Regions from separate parts of the Homo sapiens genome. Here regions 2 and 3 are each linked to region 1. Evidence: promoter capture Hi-C in 16 types of primary human blood cells and fetal thymus (Javierre and others, 2016). All regions are on one chromosome and are shown on one strand. Each heading gives the region's core, a stretch centred on a gene start or on the middle of the fragment in contact. The rest is flanking DNA. Distances are from core to core; before and after follow the strand shown. Region 1 holds the start of BZW1 (basic leucine zipper and W2 domains 1). Region 2 overlaps ALS2 (alsin Rho guanine nucleotide exchange factor ALS2). Region 3 overlaps LOC124906112 (a long non-coding RNA gene).

Region 1 (4,452 bases), core at 1,075-3,574:
AGAACCACAAATGTGATGGGAAGTAAAGGTGAAAAACATTGGTCAGAGCTATCCCTGAGTATAAACAGAGGCATTTAAACAGTGAAGAGAAATGATTCAGCTTGCAGTTGAGAAGATTGCTCTGGAAATGTTGAGAAAGGGGATAGTACAGTTAGGAAGTTATTGCAAAAGTCCCATTTAGTTAGGGGTAATAGATGCCTAAATCAAGATGGTACTGGGGAAAGATGATACAATTTTAAAACGTGGCAAAAATAGAAGATAAGCTTTGTGAGGCCATAGGCGTAACATGTCACTATCTCTACTGGTCTCTAGCTGAATAAATATTTGTTGAATGAATAAATAAGATCTTGGTGGTAAGGCGGTGCATTATAATGGTGAAGCCAGACTGCTTGGGTTCAACTGGACCTCTTCCACTTACTAGCGCTATGATCTTAGACAAGTTACCTGACCTCGATGCCTCGGCTTTTCCATCTGTAAAATGGGACTAATAATAGTGTCTAGATTACAGGGTAGTTTTCAGGATGAAATGGGGTTACTACATAAAGTGCATAGAAGAGGGCCTGATACATATAGGGACATATTAGTTATCATTTTTATTTGTGAAACGTTGTCCTTTAACAGAACTTCAGATGTGAAAAATACAGTTCTGGGGGAAGAGCAATTGACAGCACTGACAGTGTTAAATTAGCCATGAAGTGAAGATGCCAGATAGTGTGGACTGGGGCCTTGGGAGAAAGGAAGGGGCTAGACACTTAGAGATCAGACTCCAGCCACTTCCCTCTGCTCCCCACAGCCCTCCCAATCACACTAGCTTCTTGCAGTTCCTCCAACAGATGCAGTTTGTTTCCTGCCTCCTTCCCACTGCTGTTGCCTCAACTTGGAAGGGCATAGAGCCTGGATTTAACAAATATTTGCTTAATGATTCAGTAGATGATCTTGGAACTCTTTTAAGTGGAGTAAATGTTAAATCCTTGAGAATGTATGAGACTGCCATAGAAGAAAGTATCCAGAAAGAAAAGGTATCAGTACAGAAAAGAAGAGTCAGAAAATACCGTGCAAAGGCACATTCAGAACGTAACCAGGATAGCTGGAGCCAGGATTCAAGGAGAGAGGTAGGTAACATTCAATGCTCAGAGGAGGCAAACAGGGTGAAGAATAAAACACTGGGTTTGGCAATAATTTCAGGAACGAACGCTGAGAAAGTCATTTTTCCATGAAGTTGCGGGGGGGTGGGGTAGAGGTCAGATAGTTAATTAGGGAAAAGAAGTCAACAAACTATTTTATCAAAAGGTTTAGGGAAGAGAAGCCACTCTCCTCCTACCAGAGAGTGAGGAAGCAACTGGAGAGAAGTAAACTACTGTACAGTGAATAAAAACATGGGGCTACATCCTAGAGGCGCTGTGCATCTTTATCTGCACAGAGTTTTGTCACGTCCACAGTGCTTTTCACACGCACTATCTAATCTGATCGTACCCCAGCTCCCTGATGATATAGCCTCTAACTGAGGGGTTCTCAAGGTGCGGACCAGCAGCAGCATCACAGATAACTTGTTGGAAATGCACATTCATGGGTTCCACACCAGGCCTACAGAATGAGAAACTACGGGTGGGGCCCAGCAGTCTGTTATAACAAGTCCTCCAAGGGATTCTGATGCTCTCCAAGTCCCCATAGCCACCACACTCGGGAGACAACCGCTGCAGCGCGCAGGGACCGCGGTTGGAGGACAGAATTTCCCCTTCTCAATCTTCGGCCTGTGTCCTCTTCGCTCTTAAGGGAGGTAGTGAACAATGAGACAGCCCCTCAGAGAAAAGTCGCCAGGCAGGGGACTCAGCTGGAGCGAACTCCGCCCATCCCGGCCAGGGCGGAGGCGAGGTGCGGATTCCTTCCCCAAACCACGCCCCCATGCCCGCCCCCAGCCTCCGCCCCCGCACGACCCGAGGGCCCCCCGCCCTCGGGCTTCGACTTCCGGTGCTGGAGGAGGGGGCCGGCGGCGAGGGACTCCAGGAGGACGCGTCCAACTTCGAGACCGGCGGGGGCCGGCTCCGCTCTTCCAACCCCTCCATGTGTGAAGAGGGCGGACGACGCAGCGGGGGAAGAAAAATAAGCTAGTCTAGGACAAGTGTCCAGGCGACGTGGAACCCAGTAAGGGAATAAAGAAGACTGGAAACGTCTCTCCCCTCCCCTATCCCAGTCCCTCACCCTAATCCGCGCGCAATAGAAAAGGCGGAAGCGCCTGTCCACGATCAGGGCGGGGCAAGGGGAAGAAATCTCGCGATAGGAGAGCGGTCCGGGCGGGGGTGGCACCTCTCCCTCCTCCTGGCGTTAGTTCCGGTCGCAGAGGAGACACCGCCGCAGTTGCCGGTACATCGGGGATTTCTGGCTCTTTCCTCTTCGCCTTAAATTCGGTGAGACGCGGCGCCCCGCTCACCCCGGGCGGACGCTGCGGGTCGTGGACGCCGGGCAGAGGGAGAGGGAGGCGGCGGGCTGGATGCGGCCCGGCTTGGATGGGCCCGAACGGAGGTCGCCTCTTGAGGCCGGGCCGGATCTAGGGCCTGAAAGGCCGCCGCTTCGGCAGGGAGGCCGAGGGGTAGCGGCGGCCCGGGTGGGGAGGTGGGGTCCGGGTGTGCGCCGCGGCGCTGGCTGCGAAGGCAGTGGCCGAGGCGGGCTCCCTCTGGGCCGTGCCCGGCCTGGCTAACAAAGCCGCCGCGGCCTCTGTTGTGTGATGTACGCGTGGGGGCTTCCGGCGGGCGGGGCGGAGGGGCTGCCACCCACCACCGCTGCGGCCGCCGCCTCCGCCGCTGCTTTCGCTGGAGGGCGGGCGGATGTACGGGGCGCCTGGGGCCCCGGCGCAAAGCGCCTCAGTGACTGTGGTCCGCTCGTTGCGGCGGCCGCCACCGCAGGCGACAGGGTCAGTGGAGAAAGAGCCGCGGGACCCTACGGCGCCCCGCTGTGGCCGATGGGGTCCTGGGCGGGAAGCGGGTGATCTGTGGCTCGGGCGGGAGGCATGGGAAGGGTGTGGATTGGGAGACACGTTACCGGGGAGGAGGCTAGGACTGTGGGATATGGGCGAAGGAGGCTGGGCTGGCTGTTAGTTTTGCAGGCCTGAGTGGTGCAAGGCGGCCGCTGTTGCGGTCACAGGCATGACCTAGGGTAGGATGGTGCTGCCCGTAACCAGGCTTGTCAGAAGAAGGGGTTCACCTTTTGACAGTGTTTTAGAATTGGCATACACATTTTGGATGCCTGCTGACTATGGTGATAATCTCTCTTTGCGTTCTGCGATGCTTAGTGGTCGTGGAAGATGTAAGTGAATGTAAAGAGGAATGTGGAGAAAACTGAACAATTAGGTTTATGACGGGTGATCACTGTAGCACTACAATGTCGCTTAAAAGTAGTTCACAGCACTAATTTGAAGGGTTTCTTGTAGAGAGAAATGCACATTTTGACGTACATTTGATTCAAGTGCAGGTAATTCTTTGTGCCTGTATCGGGTATAATTGCCAGCTTTATATCCTGAGAGTGGGTGTTCCATTTGATTCATATGTGACTAGACTAAGGTTTGATGTTTTGCTTTAAAAATTAGTATTATGGCACTGATATTAAGGCTTTATTTCTCCTTTCCTAGGGTGTCTTTTATGAATAATCAAAAGCAGCAAAAGCCAACGCTATCAGGCCAGCGTTTTAAAACTAGAAAAAGAGGTAAATATTTACGTTTTAATGTCTCTCTTCAAACCTCCAGAACATCTTGTGTATCTTGCCTTCTCTGACAGGTACTTGCATATTACTAAAGCCTCAAAAGAAGATACCAGAAAGAAACTTGAATTTCTCGTTGACTGCCATTTCACATACACCTTTAATATTTCTACTGCTTTACTGCTCAAGCCTTAATTTTTAGTATCAATATATCTCTAAGCCGGTTAGTGAATCTTCTTTTCGGTGTGAAGGTAAAATATTTTTAAAAATAAAAATAAGGGCTCTGTTTTCACTAGCAGGCAGTCTCATTTAAGCAAACTTAAATGAGCAAAAATGTTAATTTATAAAAGGAGAACTCCTAATGTAGTCACCCAGATTTTGTGAAGATTTGTGAGAGAAAACTCAGACTTCACCCATGGAAGTTAATTGTGGAACAGGATTCACATTGTAATGTCTTTTGAAATACAGACTTAGTAGAAAAAGTATTAGAATTATATTACTATTTTTTTTTTGCATTAGTGTGTACTTAGGTGAGTATTGAATTCTGTAGCAAAGTGCTGTGCTAGTGATATAAAGCTAAATAAGACGTAGTCTCAGATATATTTTTACTGTTTTTGGTCAAAAGCATATTAACCTTGTTTTACAGGTGGTTTTGAGGAAATGAAGAACTAGGTCAGCTACTGGTTATAAGTTGTGTTTTTCTTTTTCTTCCTTAAGTAGCAGACATTTTGAGATATATATTGTAGAATTTTAAAATCACTA
Region 2 (4,452 bases), core at 521-3,020, 970 kb after region 1:
TGGTATTTTACACATGGTAAATGCTTAATAAATAATTTGCTTTTAGAGGCTAGGTCAATGTTTACACATGGATTATGGTAACCTTTGACTCAAACACCTGACTTACAAATAATCTATACACCAACAACAACTGCTACTTCCTGGATATCCTGCCACTGAAGCCTTCCCAACCACTGTGGAAGGCTGAGGAAAACTCACCTTGCACTGAAGCCTTGGCCAACTAACCACCAAGAAGGCCACTTGGAACCCCACGCCTCTCAGCCTTAACTGCTGCACAGAAAGCATTGCCTGATACCAGTATGGGAGCCAATGAGCCTTCAAATCTTGACTCAGAGTAAGAGAATTCAGTAAATTAAGGCATTGGATATATTCGGTAGGCTGGCCTAGAAAGCTACTTATTAGTTATAATGTTGTTACTAATAGGATATGCACTAAGTCACTGATTCAAAATATATTTTAAGCTCCTGGAGGTCAGAGACTATGACTTATTCACCGGTATACTCTTGTACCCATAATAATCATTCTGAACAAGCTGGTTACATTTAAGTGAGTGCTTGAGTGAAAGATACAGCCCCTGATTTTCAGTTGCAATCCACAGACTTCCACGCTATAGATTTCTAGTGCCTGTAATAAAAGTCAGTAACAGATACAAAAGAAAAAAGTGTCTTCTCCTAATAGAAACTCTCATATATAATTTGCTAAAGGTATATCCTAACAATGAAGACACTTTTATCTCATGTCACTTTAAAAATGGTTAAACAACTCAGAGAAGTGTTCCTTTCTCCCTTTCTCCTTAGTACACAGACAGCTTTTGGTGCAATGAGAAACAGGAAGACTTTACAGTCTTTTTTTAATGCCTTGCTAATTTCATGCTGAAACTTACTGAAACTACACTCTCCTGGTTATGACGATCCTCTAATCGGAAATTATTCATGGTGGAGTGGGGGGAAAGTGTGTAAACATGGTACAATAAGTTCCCAGCAATGCCCATTTAGCTCTTTTTTGTACCCACTGCATATTTTAAACACATTTTTCAGGATTATTAAATAATAATCCCATGATGCATTGTGATGAATATTATAATACTAACAAATGAATTTCAAATTCCCAGGTACTGCCACTATTTGTGCCTGTTATTACATGGTACAGTGAATGTCCTGGTAAGTCCTGACACAAACTACTTATTCCGTTAATATTTGCAACTACTCTCTTATTAAAATGGCCACAATTTTTTCAAAGGCAATATTAGATTTACAGTTCAAAGTATGATGACTTCTTTCACCAACTGATAACAGTGCTTAGGATCATTCAGGGGCCACATAACTAAACAGGAAATACACATACTAAAAAATATTATTCTCGTGATACAAGTTTCACTTGCTTTAATAGTGCTAGTAGCAGGTTCTCTTTATTAGAAATAAAAATATTGTTTAACTCACAAGTTTAAATACTGAGGTTACATTAGGGATCAGCTACTAAACGTATTATTCATTAGTCAACCATTTAACACATTGTCATCAGGTTACTTACTAATATCTATAGAGACAACTATTTTCTTTGAGCAACAACTGGGATACTTGCATTCAAGGTATAAACTCAAGATAACTACGTTGTAATAAAATGTAACCAAGTTAAGCTTTTCAAAGTGTTAATGCTAATACTACACAAATCTGTAGTAATTTTGTATCTGAGTCACAACATGTCCAAATTCCTTTGAGGGCCTTATTATACAACTTGCTCCCCTATACTTCCAGAGTTCATGATTGGTATATGCCTACATTTCCCAAGCATCTCTAGAATGTTAATTCCCCTGCAGGCTTCATGTCCTAAAGAAAGCATTTTCCCAGGAGCACAAACAGCAAAGCAAAACTGACCAAATAATTGGTCTGTCTCCTCTCCTTAGAAAAGCTTTACATAGTGGAGCTGCACTGGCACATTCCTTTCTTATTGCAGGGAAAGAAGAGTTCTTTTTCCACAGTCTCCTAATTTGAGGGTACAAAGTAAAATAAAGCAAACATATTGGGAAACAGTCCTGATTATAAATAAAAATGTTAAAGTGCTAGTTTCACAAACTATCTTAACTATACATAAAACTGTAAAAATAAATAACAAATCTATGTACTCATCATCCAGTTTTAACACATATTAACATATTTTCATATTGGCTTCAGCTCTTTTTTAAAACACAAGAAAAAATAAGTTACAGAGGTGAAGAAACTCCACTCAGAATTAGTTACTATTTCTAAAGTTAATGTATCCCATTCCCACGTTTTCATATTTACTTTTATGTACTTTCATTAGATATACACATATCAATAAATAATGCATGCTATTATGTTGCTTTCAAAGTGTACACAAATGCATCTTACTGTATAAATCCTTTAGCATTTTGCTTTTTTCACCCAGTATTACATACTTGAGATGTATATATGTTGGTAAGTATAGATCTAGCTCATTCATTTTTATGAGAAGATAGTATTGAATTGCATGAATAAACCAGTTTATCCATTTCCCCACTAATCTTTACAGTTGGATTGCTCTACTTTATTGCTCTTTTAAAGAGCTGCTATAATCATCCTTGTTATATGTTTGCTTAGCCAATTGCCCCAAGTTTAGTTAAGATCTTGGCTCTACAAAAATTTAGGCTGTGGAAGAAAAAAAAATCCTGGAGTGAATGTTAGCCCACCCAAATGCCATTATTGGGTCTAAACCACTCCCTTCCTGATAGGGAGGCCATGTGAACTGAAGAACTGTGTGATGACTCAAAAGAAAAATATTTAAAATGTGATAATTAAGGGAAACATGAGATGATCAATTTGTGGAATTAATGAGATGAAAGCTGATCTTCTCTCTGGACATAATTCACTAGCAGCTAAGCGAAACTCTGCCAACAAACCCCAGTCTTTTTCTCATAGGTATTGAGAAAACTGTAAATTTTCTTCAAATTTGAAAGAAATATACAATAGCTCCAAAAACTACCAATTTAAATATTTTTTCCTCTACCCACCTGGATCAATCAGTTCAGCTACATGCAGGCAAACATCAAGACATAAGCTAAAGAAAGCACCATCACATATACAGATGAATAAGAGACAGGGAAAGGAAAATTAAATGCAATATGAAAAAGAAACAAGCCAGAGATTGTTGCTATTTTATTGATGACTACCTAACATTTTCTTAAGGACTGACACCCTACAAAACCGAGTACTTTCTTATTACAGACAACAAAATTGTTTGGTCATCAATGAAGGGTTAAGAGAAAAAAATCTGTTAAAACTCTCTACCAGGAAAATTCATATCCTGAATACACTTGAAATACGTGGTAGATTTAATTCCACAAAGTTATAAAAAGAGCTAAATGATTTAAAAGTCACAAATCCTCACAGCATGCCTCTGAGTGAGAAAGGTACCTCATAGTACCCAAAGCGGGCCTTCCTTTATACAAGCTTAAAAATCACCACTCTGCCTTTCTTCCTAGTTTTTCAACTCATACTTTACCTAGTCTCACATTAATAAATAATTGTAGATTTTTACAAGTCAGTCACATTTTTGAGATTATCATTAGAATGGACCCAGCAGCTACTGCTTTAAACCCAGTTTTCATGAAAAGGTAGGAGATTCCACCTAATTACAAAAACACTAACATCAAGACTCATTGAAGTTCTTAGCATACCCTTTGCTTCTTTAACAGTCAAAGTGCCCAAAGTAAGTGTTTCAAATGACAGCCCAAATTCTGAAAAACTGAAATTTGGAGAGAAGGGATTCCTGTTTATATTGAGTACATTTAAAAAGTAAATGGCCTGCATAATGCCACTCAAGTTTTGTTTTTTTCCCAAAATTATCGGTTTGGTATTTCATTTTTCTGGATCATTACAGTTTCAAATTTTAACACTGTTAAACAACTTTGACGTTTTCTTGCTATAATTATGAATTTTAAATCTGCTAATACTGGTCATAGTTTAGAAACTAATAAATTCAAACCATGTATAGATTCTGTCAGTATCTTTTTCACATTAAAATGTCCTTATGGAACACCAAAATTACTACAGAACAACTTGAAATCATATTTTATAGCTACTTCCTTAAAATATTCAGTTCCCTTCCCCATCACTTAAGAAAAGAGTCAGTTTGGATCATGATGTAGTGGGAGGAATTAATTATAAAAACAGCTAATATGTATTGAATATTTACCATAAAACAGGCACTGTAATAAATACGATACATGAACCATTACACGTAAAGGTACTGTTATCAGGAAAACATTTTTATCCCCAATTTAGAGACAAGAGAACTGAGGCAGAGAGATTAAATAACTTGCCCAAAATCAAAGATGTAAATGGATGTGACTCTGGGTATGTTCAGATACAAAGCCTAGAATCTTAACCACTATGCTTATGTTATCAAGGTTAAAACACCGTAGTTTACTGCAAAAAATTTTTCACTGCTTTAAAT
Region 3 (4,452 bases), core at 1,385-3,884, 840 kb before region 1:
GTCCTGAGGAAAGGGTATCACATTTAGACATTTAGGAGACCAGGAGTAGAAGGAATTGAAAGAATATGACTGAGTGATGAGAATTCGATATCATCTATATACGGAGCATAGTTTCAGAAGGCTTGAATGATAGGAAATTAGAGAGTCTTTGAAAGAGACTATCTTCTCATCAACTGTTTGTTTTGAGGTCTCGACACACCAAAGAAGTTGACTACTGAATTGTGAATATTATTAGTTTTCCTCATTTTTCTAGAGCTCTGCTTAAATGTATTAATTTTGACTATCAGAATGTCCCCCAAGGTAATCATTGCTACTTTGAGTTAAAAATATTTTTGCTGTACTAGGGTGAGCACGTGAGTTAGTATTTTAGTGAGAATTCATATAAAAAGTAGTTCTGCCAGTAAGAAGTTATGACTTTAATTTAGAAAAATTCATGACAAACAAGAAAGAAGCCATTATAGTCAAACAAAAATATATGCTAAAGAATAGCATCTCGGGTTACCTACCAACTGGGGCTAAGAAGGGACTATGCAATGAATGACATGACAATTTTTTACCCTGGCATATGGACTAAACAAAATGGCCTTTCATTAATTGATAAAAGAGGAAGTGTCCCTATGAAGGTGTTTAGGGGACAAAAGGCAAAGTTTGATCATGAATTTGTCATTGTCTACTGGACCTCTAATTCATAGTCCTTGGACTCAACTTGGATTGAATTGGAGGCTGAATGGACTTATTCCTTTGTTCATTCCCTATGTAGAACCCCCTTATATATCCAAGAAATAAAATGACTATGAAAGACAAAGAAACAGGAAAAAAAAAAAGTCCTAAGCCAAGACTCTGTACTAGTAGATGCACTAAAGCAAAACAAGCACACGCTTGAAGAATAATGAAATTAATGGCCAAAATATTGACAATGCCATCTACAAAGAACTATTTTGATAGGAATCCTCATTTAACAAACTCAACAATACATGCTCACTGAGAGTCAGAGTACAGATCAATATTGAGACAAATATACTTGGAACAAATCCAAAGGATAAATGAAATCTGGACACAAAGGGACCTGATGAGGACACCTTTATTTATTTTTAAGTTAGAGTCATCAAAATAACCTTGGTGGAACCTCATAGTTGTCAAAATATGAGACCACCACTGAAAATCAATATAAAACCCCAAATTTGAATTGATTTATTACCTTAGTAAGGGAGGAGTCTTGTCAAGCAGAGCAAACCATTGATCTTACAGGGATTTTTGAGGAAGAGTGTGTTGTGTTAGTGAAAGGTGGGAGTGGAATTATGTCAGCTTTATTTCAGATGTGTTAGTTTTCATGTCTACATGTTCCATTTGATTCTTTCTCATAGCTTCTCTATGTTCATGTTTTCCTTTAACTTGCTGGGCATAGTTATAACAGCTTTTTGTTTGTTTGTTTGTTTGTTTTGAGACAGGGTTTCATTCTGTTGCCTAGGCTGTAGTGCAGTGGTGTGATCTTGGCTCACTGCAACCTCTGCTTCCCAGGCTCAAGTGATCCTCCGACCTCAGCCTCCCAAGTAGCTGGGACTAAGGTGCATGCCACCATGTCCAGCTAATTATTGTAGATTTTGTAGAGATGGGGTCTCCTTATATTGCCCAGGCTGGCCTCAAACTTCTAGCTAAAGTGATCTGCCTGCCTCTGCCTCCCAAAGTGCTGGGATTACAGGTGTGAGTCACTCTGCCTGGCCCAACAGTTGTTTTAAAGTTGTCTTTCTTTAAAATCTCTTTCTAGTAAGTGATTTTTCTTTTGGTTATGGGCCACATTTTCCTGCTTTTGGCTGGTCTAGTAATTTTTAAAAAATAAATAGGGACAAGTTCTCACTATTTTGCCCAGACTGGTCTTGAACTCTTGGACCGAGCAATCCTCCTGCCTTGGCCTCCCAAAGTGCTGGGATTACAGGTGTGAGCCACCAGGCCTGGCCTGGTCTAGTAATTTTTTATTGGACACTGAATTTATGAATTTTCTGTCATTGAATATCTGGGTATCATTGGGTAGTATTTGCCTTGAGAAGAATGTTGAACTGTGTTCTCTTAGGTAGCCAGTTAGGTTATTTGGGGTTCAGGTTGATTTTTTTGAGGCTATTGTTAAGCTTTGTTAGGGTTTATCTAGACTAGTTTTTACTCTACCAAGAGTGTAGCCCCATTTGTATGGAGTAATTTATGGGGTCTCTACTGGATGCCCTGAGTTATCAAACAGGACAGCACTCTCCATGCTGGCTTAGGGAACCCAAATGAATTCCCAGCACTACAGGCTCTCTGAGAACTGTTCACTTCACAGCTTCTAGTCACTCTTTGCTTGACTTTATAGAGTCTCACTCTATAGCTTTTGTTCATAGCTTAGAGTTCACTAAAAACTCAAGGAAATTACTATACAAACTTCTGAAGTTTTGTTCCGCATAGCTTGCTCCTGTCTGAACATTTGCCTTACACCTCTGGCCTCTTCAGACTCCATGGCCTTCCATGTCTGTCTCCTCAATTCAGCAAGTTTATCATGTTTTGCTGGGGATTTTTTTCCCTGGCTGGGTGGTCTAGAAAGTGCCCCACACAGAAATCTGGGTTATCATAGGATCTGCCTTGTTCGTTTCTCTTCTTTCATAGATAAAAATACTGTGCTTCCTACTGTCCAGTGTTTGAGCACAGTAGTTTCATGTAATCTGCTGAGTTGTCTAGTGTTTAAGGCATCAGGATAAATGTTTATTATGGCCAAAGCAGAACTTATTTTCTTATTTTTAAATTTTTTTATTTTTAATTTTTGTGGGTACATAGTAGGGTTATATATTTATGGGGTGCACGTACATGGGATGTTTTGAAATAAGTATGCAATGTGTAATAATCACATCATGGAGAATGGGGTACCCATCCCCTCAAGCATTTATTCTTTGTGTTACAAACAATCCAATCATGTGCTTTTTGTTATTTAAAATGTACAATTATTATTGACTATAGTCACCCTGTTGTGCTATCAAATAGTAACTCTTATTAATTCTTTCCAACTAGTTTTTTTGTACTCATTAACCATCCCCATCCCCACTCCCCCACCCCACCTCCATTTCCCTTCCCAGCCTCTGGTAACCATTCTTCTTCTCTCTCTGAGAACTTGACATGTTTTTAAATAAGCTTTCTAAATGTGTTCTGTGTTGGTGTGAGGAACACCACACAGAGGAACAAACAGAGGAAGAAAAGAGTTTATATCATGTTCACTGGAGTTGTCTGACTTTTGAAATATGAAGCTGTCACTGTTGGCTTTCACCGAAGTGGCTATATCATCAATACAGGCTCCCTGATCAGAAAACCTGTAGATTCTCTTAAAATCAAGAACTAGTTAGATGTGTTCTACTTTGACCCAAATGAACTTGGCTTGCCAAGTATGGGACACACAGTGACACAGGAAGAAGTTAGAAAGGACTACTTCTGGGTGGCTTACCACTCTTTTCCCAGGACTGAGCATAGCCACTAAGACAATAAATTCTCAAAAATATTTGCAAACTAACAGGTGATGCTTATTTTTAGTTGGCTAGGCTCCTCAGACTATTCTCCATTAAGACTAATTTTCTCTCCTAGAAGAATAGCTATGAGCTACAAAATAACGCACTTAACTCCTGAATGTCAGCATTGGCTAGATCAGGAAAATGTTTTTAAAAACTCCTGAATGTTTTTAAAAAATTATCTGAATTAAATTTTTTCCCTAACTTTTCATTAGAAAAAATTTCAAACATACTGAAAAGTTGAAAGAAGGGTATTGTATTAGAGTTCCCCAGAGAAACAAAACTTATATTTATCTATCTCATATCTATGGAGAGAGAGAGAAACATAGATAACTATGGAAACATATATAGAGAAATTTAACATTCGTATAGTGGTTTAAATGTTAATCTCATCAAAAACTACTTTCACAGAAACATCTAGAATAGTGTTTGACCAAATATTTTCATTGAAAGCATTTGAAAGTAAGCTTCAGACATCATGTATTAATATTTCAACCCTAATATTTCAATATGTGTTTCCAAAGGATAAGGACACTATCCTATATAACCACATGTACATTAGCAATAATTCCATAGTATCAGCTAATACTTAAATTTAAAATTTCACCAGTTGTCTTTAAAATGACTTTTTAATTCAAGATCCAGTCAAGGTTTACCCGTTGCATTTGGTTATGTCTCTTTAGTCCTTGTTTCAAAATTTAGAATATCCCCATCCTCATTTATGGCACTGCAATTTGGAGAAGTCTAGAATGGTAGACACACAGCATGTCCCATATCTTGAATGTGCTTGTTTTTCTATGGCATCATTTCTGTAAGCTGGAAGTTAGGGCGAAAGAGTTGATTAGATTCAGGTGAAACATTTTTGGCAAGAATATATAAGTGATTTGCGGACCTCCTATTATATAACGTCAGGCAGTACCTAATTTCTTATTGT

Evidence for each region. The method cuts DNA at HindIII sites, captures the fragments that hold promoters and counts their contacts. A CHiCAGO score of 5 or more calls a contact.
Region 2: a contact is called between a fragment that was not itself captured here and the fragment with the promoter of BZW1 in region 1, in 1 of 17 cell types (neutrophils). The highest score is 6.2, in neutrophils.
Region 3: a fragment that was not itself captured here is called in contact with the fragment with the promoter of BZW1 in region 1 in 2 of 17 cell types (megakaryocytes and fetal thymus); the score reaches 9.1 in megakaryocytes.

What each region holds. Positions count from the first base shown.
Region 1 is chr2:200,809,586-200,814,037 of GRCh38, forward strand. It overlaps BZW1 (basic leucine zipper and W2 domains 1), which reads left to right and starts at 2,325. Exons shown (of 12, transcript NM_001207067.2): 1 at 2,325-2,405; 2 at 3,623-3,696. The coding sequence starts at 3,633. BZW1-AS1 (BZW1 antisense RNA 1) reads right to left here and starts at 2,585. Exons shown (of 4, transcript NR_110275.1): 1 at 2,200-2,585. RefSeq lists enhancers at 1,539-1,798, 2,647-3,162, 3,163-3,678 and silencers at 1,849-1,998, 2,529-2,898. The HindIII fragment of the contact is 7,792 bases long and covers 262-4,452 here.
Region 2 is chr2:201,775,434-201,779,885 of GRCh38, forward strand. The region is part of intron 1 of ALS2 (alsin Rho guanine nucleotide exchange factor ALS2); the gene reads right to left. Among named protein-coding and RNA genes, the nearest start is that of ALS2, 3.3 kb to the right of the region's middle. The HindIII fragment of the contact is 272 bases long and covers 1,635-1,906 here.
Region 3 is chr2:199,967,711-199,972,162 of GRCh38, forward strand. It overlaps LOC124906112 (a long non-coding RNA gene), which reads right to left. Exons shown (of 3, transcript XR_007088012.1): 3 at 2,887-4,334. Among named protein-coding and RNA genes, the nearest start is that of MAIP1, 14 kb to the left of the region's middle. The HindIII fragment of the contact is 1,027 bases long and covers 2,122-3,148 here.